Regions from separate parts of the Homo sapiens genome. Here region 1 is linked to region 2. Evidence: promoter capture Hi-C in human tissues and cell types (Jung and others, 2019). All regions are on one chromosome and are shown on one strand. Each heading gives the region's core, a stretch centred on a gene start or on the middle of the fragment in contact. The rest is flanking DNA. Distances are from core to core; before and after follow the strand shown.

Region 1 (4,801 bases), core at 1,567-4,066, 280 kb after region 2:
TTTTCCTTCTGGCAGAGTGAACTGGGGACCTCAGTTGTTATTTTCTTCTCAAAGAGGAAGAAGGAGTTTCAGATGATCCACTCTGGATGTCATGTTTTGAAGGAGCAAGTGTATTACATAAAACACGATCACTCTGTCTCACAAAAAGACTCAAAAAGTAGAAATAAAAGTGAGAACTCCCACTACTTAGTGAAAATTCTCAAAGTGGGGGATACGGAAGGAGACCGCTACTACCCCTGCTGCCCTCCTCCCTGCACCTTGCCTAGTTCACAAGACAGGAGGAGAGAAGAAGCAAAAAGTTAGAAAAAAAAACAAAAGTAAGATAAATAGCCAGACAACCTTGGCACCACCACCCAGCCCTAGGAGTTAAAAAAAGTAATAATAATAACATCAACCCCTGAGCTAAACTACTTGTGTTATCTGTAAATTCCAGGCACTATGAAAAAAGCATTGTAAGACTTTCTGTTCTGTTAGCTGATGATGCTGCCCCCAGTCACGTTTCCCACGCTTGCTTGATGTATCACGACTCTTTCACGTGGACCCCTTAAAGTTGTAACCCTTTAAAAAGGCCAAGAATTTCTTTTTCGAGGAGCTCAGCTCTTAAAACGCAAGTCTGCCGACGCTCCCGGCCGAATAAAAACCTCTTCCTTCTTGAATCCAGTGTCTGAAAAGTTTTGTCTGCGGCTCATCCTGCTGCAGTATGACAGTGAACCACCTGGACAGGCGAGGGCGTCCCGTCAGAAGACCAGTGAGAATGCAGCCAGCACAGGGCCGCGGGGTTCCTCCATCTGCCTGCGGCCCAGGAAACCTTCCAGCCCAGATTCTTTCCCTCCCGGGGCAGGGCTGGGAGCACGGCCCCGTGTTCACCACCCATGGATCCCGCCCCTCCAGGGATGTGCTCACATAACAGCCACTTTGTGCCCGTCCAGACTGGAAGACTTGCCGTCACTGACAGGTGCTCCAGGCTAGCAGCCTCTGCATGTCTGAATGTTTATTTACAGTATGCGATGGCCAGGCACAGTGGCTCATGCCTGTAATCCTAGCACTTTGGGAGGCCGAGGTGGGCAGATTGCCTGAGCTCAGGGGTTTGAGACCAGCCTGGGCAACACGATGCAGCTCCATCTCTACTAAAATACAACAAATTAGCCAGGTATGGTGGCGTGCACCTGTAGTCACAGCTACTTGGGAGGCTGAGGCAGGAGAATTGCTTGCACTCGGAAGGAGGAGGTTGCAGTGAGCTGAGATCACGCCACTGCACTCCAGCTTCGGCGACAGAGCGAGACTCTGTCTTAAAAAAATAAAATTAAAATAAATAAATAAAAGAATGGAACAAAGGGGCCATGTGCAGGGGCTCATGCCTGTAATCCGAGCATTTTGAGAGGCTGAGGCAGGCAGATCATTTGAGGTCAGGAGTTTGAGACCAGCCTGGCCAACATGGTGAAACCCTGTCTCTAGTAAATATAGCCAGATGCAGTGGCTCACGTTGTAATCCTAGCACTTTGGGAGGCTGAGATGGGTGGATCACTTGAGGTCAGGAGTTCGAAACCAGCCTGGCCAACATGGTGAAACCCCATCTCTACTAAAAATATAAAAAAATGAGCTGCTCGTGGTGGTGCGCACCTGTAATCCCAGCTACTTGGGAGGCTGAGGCAGGAGAGTCGCTTGAACCAGGGAGGCGGAGGTTGCAGAGAGCTGAGATGGTGCCACTGCACTCCAGCCTGGGCGACAGAGCGAGACTCCATCTCCAAAAAAAATTAAATAAATAAATAAATAATTTGTTAATAGCTCATTCATCCCACCAGGGAAGAGATGGCTTCCAACAAGAAGACAAGCACTAACAGACAAAATCGGGACCCAGAAGCAAGCAGGCTTGTGGATAGAGCACAGGCCCCGCTGAGGTCCGGCACCTTGAAGGAGGTGGAGCACCAGCTCCCAGGGGCCTCTGCTCCTGACCACACCAAGACCGTCGTTTACAGCAGGGGTCCCCAACCCCCGGGCCACAGAATGTGGCCTGTTAGGAACCAGGCCACATAGCCAGAGGTGAGCAGCGGGCCAGCCAGTAAAGCTTCATTTGTATTTACAGCCGCTCCCATCGCTGACGTTACCGCCTGAGCTCCACTTTGTCAGATCAGCATCAGCATTCAGTTCTCACAGAAGCATGAACCCCATTGTGAACTGTGCATGAGAGGGATTAGGTTTCACACTCCTTATGAGAATCTAATGCCTGATGATCTGTCATTGTCTCCCATCACCCACAGATGGGACCATCTAGTTGCAGGAAAACAAGCTCAGGGCTCCGACTGACTTTACATTTTCAAAGTTGTAGAATTATTTTATTATTGGCCAGGTACAGTGGCTCATGCCTGTAATCCCAGCATTTAGTAGAGACAGGGTTTTGCCATGTTGTCCAGGCTGATCTCGAACTTCTAACCTCAAGTGATCCTCCCGCCTTGGCCTCCCAAAGTGCTGGAGTTACAGGCATGAGCCACCACGGCTGGCCATATATTTTAAATTCTTTATTGAAATAACTTTAGGGCTGGGCGTGGTGGCTCACACCTGTAATCCCAGCACTTTGGGAGGCTGAGGCGGGCGGATCATGAGGTCAGGATATCGAGACCATCCTGGCCAACATGGTGAAATCCCGTGTCTACTAAAATACAAAAAATTAGCCAGGCGTGGTGGCATGTGCCTGCAGTCCCAGCTACTTGGCAGGCTGAGGCAGGGGAATCACTTGAACCCAGGAGGTGGAGATTGCAGTGAGCCGAGATTGCGCCACCGCACTCCAGCCTGGTGACATAGCAAGACTCCGTCTCCAAAAAAAAAAAAAAACAGAAAAAGGAAGGAAGGAAGAAAGACAGAAAGAAACTTTACACTTCTTAACAGAAAAATTGCAAAAATAGTACAGTTCCCATATATACACTTTGCTCAGGTTCTCCTGGTGTTAACATTTTACATGACTGTGGGACAGATATGAAAAGCAGGCATTGGCTGGGCATGGTGGCATGTGCCTGTAATACCAGCACTTTGGGGGACTGAGGCAGGACGCTCACTTGAGGCCAAGAATTTTTCTTTTCTTTTTTTTTTTTTTTTTTTTTTGAGATGGAGTCTCGCTCTGTCGCCCAGGCTGGAGTGCAGTGGTGCGATCTCCACTCACTGCAAGCTCCACCTCCCAAGGTTCACACCATTCTCCTGCCTCAGCCTCCCAAGTAGCTGGGACTACAGGAGCCCGCCACTACGCCCAGCTAATTTTTTTTTTTATTTTTAATGGAGATGGGGTTTCACCGTGTGTTGGCCAGGATGGTCTCGATCTCCTGACCTCGTGATCCTCCCGCCTTGGCCGCCCAAAGTGCTGGGATTACAGGCATGAGCCACCATGCCCGGCAAGGCCAGGAATTTCAAGACCACTCTGGGTAACAAAGCAAGACTGTCTCTACAAAAAGTTAAAAAATGAGCTGGGCATGGTGGTGCACACCTGTAGTGTTAGCTATTCATGGGGCCAAGGTGGGAGCATCACTTAAGCCCAGAAGTTCGAGACTTCGAGGCTGCAGTGGGTAGCAGAATGAGACTCTGCCTCAAATAATGATAATAATTTACAGGACTTAAACCTCTGTCTCTTGTCCCACCAACTTTGGACAGTATCTTTCCTCTGTTCCCCGGAAGATGAGGGTCCCATCCTTTCCTCTTTCTCTCCCTCCCACCCACCTCCCAACTCATAACAGCTGGACAGTTGCAGTTCCAGAGCCAAGGTTACTATTTATAGTTAGAACAGATGGAAAATATTCACCTTTTTCATGGTTTACATGTAGATTGATGCCAAAGACTAAAAATAAATCCGCAGTATTTTCTGATTATGGCTATATATATTTTGAGACAGAGTCTGGCTCTGTCGCCCAGGCTGGAGGGCAGTGGTGCGATCTCGGCTCACTGCAACCTCCACCTCCCGGGTTCAAGCGATTCTCCTGCCTCAGCCTCCCAAATACCTGGGATTACAGGCATGCACCACCGCACCCAGCTAATTTTGTATTTTTGGTAGAGACGGGGTTTCACCATGTTGGCCAGGCTGGTCTTGAACTCCTGACCTCAGGTGCTCCACCTGCCTTGGCCTCCCAAAGTGCTGGGGTTACAGGCGTGAGCCACCACGCCTGGCCTATTGTAATTATATATTTTGATGAGTTTTTGCAAGTATATATAGTTATGTCATCACAATTACCATCAAGATATAGAACATTTCTGTTACCTCTAAAAGTTTTCTTGAGCCCCTTCGAAGTCAAACCACACCCTCGCTCCCGGCTCTGGCAACCCTGAACTGCCTCTGTCACTGTAGATTAGTTGTCTTTTTTATGTAAGTGGAATCATACAGTATGAAAAAACATTTTTTTTTTTTGAAACAGAGTCTTACTCTGTCGCCCACACTGGAGTGCAGTGGCGCCATCTCCAGTCACTGCAGCCTCCGCCTCCCAGATTCAAGCAATTTTCCTGCCTCAGCCTCCCAAGAAGCTGGGATTACAGGTGCACACCACCACACCTGGCTAATTTTTGTGTTTTTAGTAGAGATGGGGTTTCACCATGTTGGCCAGGCTGGTCTTGAACTCCTGACCTCAGGTGATCTGCCCGCCTCAGCCTCCCAAAGTGCTGGGATTACAGGCGTGAGCCACCGTGCGCGGCCGTTCTCTGCTATTTCTGAATCTCCTTGCTCTCGCTGGAAGGAGTCCTTTTGTCTCCTGGTCTCTGGTCCTTCTCTTCTGGGCTGCTGGTTTTCCTGGTGTCTCCCAGTTACGAATGGAGACCTTGCTTCATCCTC
Region 2 (4,553 bases), core at 1,788-4,287:
GGCAGCAGATGCGTCCAAGGCTTTTCATTGGGTCGTGAAAACAGAAAGACACCGGCTTCTGCAGCCACAGAGGCCCAGCCCTGCGGCAAGAACGCGGCACCAGCTCGCAGGGATTACAGAGGGGGCCGGGCCCTGACCCGGGGGCCGCCTCCGCCCGCCCGCCCGTCGGACCGGGAGCCGCGCCTGCCCTTGGGGCCTCGCTCCGCGGGCTGCCCGCCCGGCGCACGGGCCAGGGCTCTGCGCCCAGGGTCTGGGCCGGATCCTGCCGCTCCCCCGGCCCGAGGGCAGGCGCGGGGCCCGCACACCTGGCGGAGGCCGCGGCTGAACTTTGTGTGACACACGCGGCGTTTTCCTTAAAGGCGAAAACAATCCCGGGGCGAGCGAGCAGCCCTCGGCCGCCGCTGGGAGAGAAAGTGGAGACTGGAAGAGAAACTCCTGACTCATCCGCCCGGGCGCTTATGGCTGGGGATTGGATTCTGACCTTTCGGTGCGCTCCTGCGCGGCGCCCCGCCCGGCCCCAGCTCGGGGCGCACAGGCCGCCCGCCCGCGCCCTCCCCGCGCGCGGAGGGAAGGGGCGCGATTTACCTACGGAGTCTATCTCCAGGAGTCGCTGGAGGTCCCGGATGCTGTGGATCTGACTGCGGGCCAGCCTCTCGATCACCTCGCGGGGGATCTCGGCTTCCTGCAAGCAGAGGCCACACGGTCAGCGCCCGCGGCCCCGACCCCGCCGGCACGCGCCCCCGGCCGCCAGGAGCGCCGCCGCCCCGGGCCCGAGGAGACCCCGCGAGCGCCGGCCGCAGTCCCCGCCCCAGCCCCCGCGGAGCCCTCGCCCCGGCCCTGGAACCAGAAGCCGGGGGTGGGGCTGGAAGAGACCCCAAATTCTCCACCCGCATCCATGTTCCGCCCTTTGCAAAATCAAAGCCCCCCCCCCTTTATATTTTCAGACAAAAGCCCCCGCACTCCGGCCCCTCCACCCGGGGTGTCAGTTACAGAAGGTCTAGGGGGCAGCGAGGGGGCCGAAAGTTTCTGATTTAATAGTGAGATCAACATCTAGAAAGATCAAGTTAAAATGCGTCACGGGTCGGCGAGAGTCACGGCAGCCCTAACACTTTAATCCAGGCAGGGCTTAAATTTCACGCCCCGGAATCCCGGGCCGAACCCGTGGAGAGGTCTCTCCGTCTCACAAACACACGCACGCGCGCGCAGACACACACACGCGCACACACATCTCACTCACACACTCGCCCCACCCCGGGCTCCGGCCCAGCCGCGGCCCTAGCGCCGACTAAGACGCCCAAATCCAGCCGGCGGCCGGGAGAAGAAGCCTCCAGGGAAAGCGAGGGTTAAACTTCCACCTCGCGCAGCTCTCCGTGCCCTGCGGAGACCACCCTCACCTCTGGCCTCCCCCACTCCCCTCCCCGATTTTTAAGGAGAGTCGGGGGTCGCTGGGGAGCCTGAAGCACTAAGTTCCCACGACGGGGGCTGTGGAAAGTCATTCATCACAGCAAAGCTCCCGGGGATGGGGATGGGGATGGGGATGGGGGGGCGGGGACGCCGCGGTGGGAGGGTGCGGACGCCTGGCCCAGCCCCAGCTCGCCTCGCTCAGCCACCTGTAAGCAGGCCCGGGCGGGCGGGACTGCGCCGGCCCTGAGCCCCGCCGGGCTTGGGGACTGGGAACCGAGGGCTGCAGCTTGGCGCTGCCCACCCTGCCCGGCCAGGGGCTTCCGCAGCAGCCGCCCCTACCTATTTATCCGCCGCCCTTCTCTCCTCCCCAGGCTCCGCCGGCTCACACACACCCCCTTCCCCGCTCCCCGCACCCCGCTGCTGCAGCGCCCGCTGCGCCCCAGCTCCCCTTCCCCGGAGAGGACACTGCGCCCCCCGAAGTTTCTGCCCACTCGTCCACCTCGCTGCTCCCCGGTCCCCCCGAGGCAGAGCGACCGACGCAACACGCTGGAAACTCCCCACACACACTTAGGCATGGCAGAAAATAGAACCCAGTTGGGAAAATCTAAACATCGACCACCCTGGCAGGAACCAAAACGCTCTCTGCAGAGCCCGTGGCGCCCCAGCCGGCGGGGGGTGTGCGCCGGAGGAGCCGGCGCAGGGACGGGGCGCGGGGGCGGCACCAACCTCGGCCAGAACATGGGCGAGGTATCCGCAGCCGAGGAGCAGCAGGCAAGCCAAGGTCCTCATCGCGTCCCGAGGCGCTGGCTGCTCGGAGGAGAGGCGAGGCCGCGGGGCGGGCGCTCCAGCCGGTCTCCTGTGGCGGCGAAATTCAGTACCATCCCTTAGGGAGCGCGGCCCGGAGGAGGGTGGCGCGGGGAGCACGGAGCTGGCGGAGCGCGCCCGGCGCGAGCAGTGAGTGCGGAGAGGCAGGCAGCGCCAGCCAGGAGGAGGAGAAACAGGGAGTGCGCGCCCGCAGCGCGGGGAGCCTCCTGGGCCGCCGGGTAGGGGGTGGGGACGGAAGGGGCGGAGGGCGGGGGCTGGGCTTCTTCCTCGGTGCGTTCCCGGTGCTGGCCGCCGCCGCGCTCGCTCCCCGCGCTGGCTTCAGGAGCGACCCGGCCGGTAATTCTGCATATTTGCGGACATCAGCCCCAAGAAGAACTCCGGAGGGAGTCTGGGGCCGCCGCCGCCGCCGCCGCCACACCGATCACCTGCCTGGACGCCTGGCCCGGCCCCGGCTGCGAGCTGCGAGCCGCCCTGCGCGCCCACCGCCGGCCCCGCGCTCGCCTCCGGCCTCCTCTTGCAGCCGCCGCCCGGCCGGGCACAGCGCGGCCCAGCACCCCCTCCGCGGCGCGCCCTCGGCTCCGGCGCCGCGCTCCGCCCTCCGCTCGCCGGGGCCGGGCAGCGCCCGCGGCCGAGCCGCCTGGCAGCCACCACCCGCCGCCCGGGGCCTCGCTGCGCCGCCCGCGCGGGCCTGAGGGCGGGCGCAAGGCCGAGTCGGCGCCTCCGCCGCAGCCGCCGCCGGGAGAGGAGGAGGAGGAGTAGGCGCAGGCCCGGCTCGCCGGAGTTGGGCGGGCTCCGCAGGGCGCGCGTGTGGAGCCGGCCGGCGGCGGGGAGAGGGTTATAGCGCCGCCGCCGCGCCCCTCCCCCGCCCCCGCCCCCGCCCCCCCCCCCCGCCTCCCCCGGATTCCGGGCCTGGGACCCGCACCTCGGAAGCGCTCGGGGTTCGTGCGGACCCGGCAGGGCCCGGGCGCCGCCGCCGCGGCAGGGAGCACACACGCGCTCGCGCAAGCAGCTAAATCCATCAAAGCCCCGCGCCCGGCTCCGCGCCGGGGCTCCGCGCCCCTCCCTCGAGCTTGCCCACCCTCCAGTGCCAGCTGCAATCCTGCGGCACCGGGTGGGGAGGGAGGAGGCCGCCGCAGAAGCGCCGCCGTCGCCGGCTCGCCTCTCTCGGGCCCCAGCGGCGGCAGCGGGCAGCGCCCAGAGCTGCTGCGCCAAAAAGGGCCAGAGAGCCGGTCCCCGCCCCCGCCCCGGCGCTCCGGCCGCTCTCCACGGTTCGGATCCAGGGCCCCAGCCTTCCTCTCTCCATAAAAGGAGGGGGAGTCAGTCTTTGGGGAAGGAGGGGGGCGGGTTTGGGGCACTCACCTGGCGGCTGCCACGCGCCCCCGCCCAGGATCCGAGGCCTGGGGCATCTGAATGAGGACCCTCCACCCACATTTCCACTTGGGAGCGAGCTCCAGTCGGGGAAAGGGCCTGCAGCCCGCCTCGTCCCCACCCTGGGACCCCGCGCCCCCCAGTCCCCCACTCCCGCGCCGAAGGCAGGGCCGCGCCCTGAGCCGGGAAGTCGAGGGGATGGAAGGGAAAGGAGCCACCGGTGAGGGTCCCCCGGGTTCTGAGCCTCCCGCGTCGGGATCCGTGGGGCGCACAGAGCGCCACCTCCGGCCGAGGCGCAGCTCAGAGCGCGATGCGGGGGAGGAACGCGCGCGGAGGCCGAGGTCTGAGCGTGGCTAGACGGCTCCCACGCCGAGAAAGGGCGGGTGCGCCTGGGCTGGATGGATTTCGCCTCCCTAGACCAGGAGGGATTGGACCCTGACTACAGGTCCAGGTGCTCGTCAGTGCCCTGCCAGGGGGTCTACGCGTCCTGGTACCGGGTCCAGCGGGGTGGCGTGCTGTGCAGACCCCGAGGCTAGACGGCCTAGGCCCCTGGAGCCCAGGAGACGCTTCCTTGGGTGAGCAGCGGAGAATCCCGCCCGGCCCAGCCGTCACCCCCAACCCTGTCGATTAAACCCCTGCCCCCGTCGCGGTCGCCCTCCCTCCAGACAAAGGCCGTTAAGGCGCAGCCCCGCGGGCGGTCTTTCATCCCCAGCTAGGCCAGCTCTAGCATTTCAAAGGCCGAATCCGGAGAGCGCTTCGGGGGCTCTCCCCTTCCCCCAAATATTTGGGGAGCGACGCCTCTCCCTCCGCTCCCAGTGGGTCGCGTCTACACGCGCCCTTCCACACACCTGCAGGCCCCCTCCCCACGTCTCTCCCTTCCGTTGGCCGCAGCCCCACACCACGACCCCCGCGGTCAAGCATGCCCTCTGGGTGGTCAGGACCAAGCGGGACCGGGA

Evidence for each region. The method cuts DNA at HindIII sites, captures the fragments that hold promoters and counts their contacts. A contact is called where the count stands out against the background at its distance.
Region 1: a contact is called between a fragment that was not itself captured here and the fragment with the promoter of PDGFA in region 2, in 3 of the 25 tissues and cell types used here (IMR-90 fibroblasts, dorsolateral prefrontal cortex and pancreas).

What each region holds. Positions count from the first base shown.
Region 1 is chr7:797,164-801,964 of GRCh38, forward strand. It overlaps LOC124901567 (a long non-coding RNA gene), which reads left to right. Exons shown (of 2, transcript XR_007060175.1): 2 at 1-656. Among named protein-coding and RNA genes, the nearest start is that of SUN1, 33 kb to the right of the region's middle. RefSeq lists an enhancer at 426-926. The HindIII fragment of the contact is 9,331 bases long and covers 1-4,801 here.
Region 2 is chr7:516,809-521,361 of GRCh38, forward strand. PDGFA (platelet derived growth factor subunit A) reads right to left here and starts at 3,038. Exons shown (of 6, transcript NM_033023.5): 1 at 2,131-3,038; 2 at 586-682. The coding sequence starts at 2,193. PDGFA-DT (PDGFA divergent transcript) reads left to right here and starts at 3,583. Exons shown (of 3, transcript NR_033963.1): 1 at 3,583-4,553. RefSeq lists enhancers at 1-907, 1,830-2,751 and silencers at 65-164, 2,008-2,097, 2,558-2,697, 2,978-3,067, 3,168-3,507. The HindIII fragment of the contact is 45,371 bases long and covers 1-4,553 here.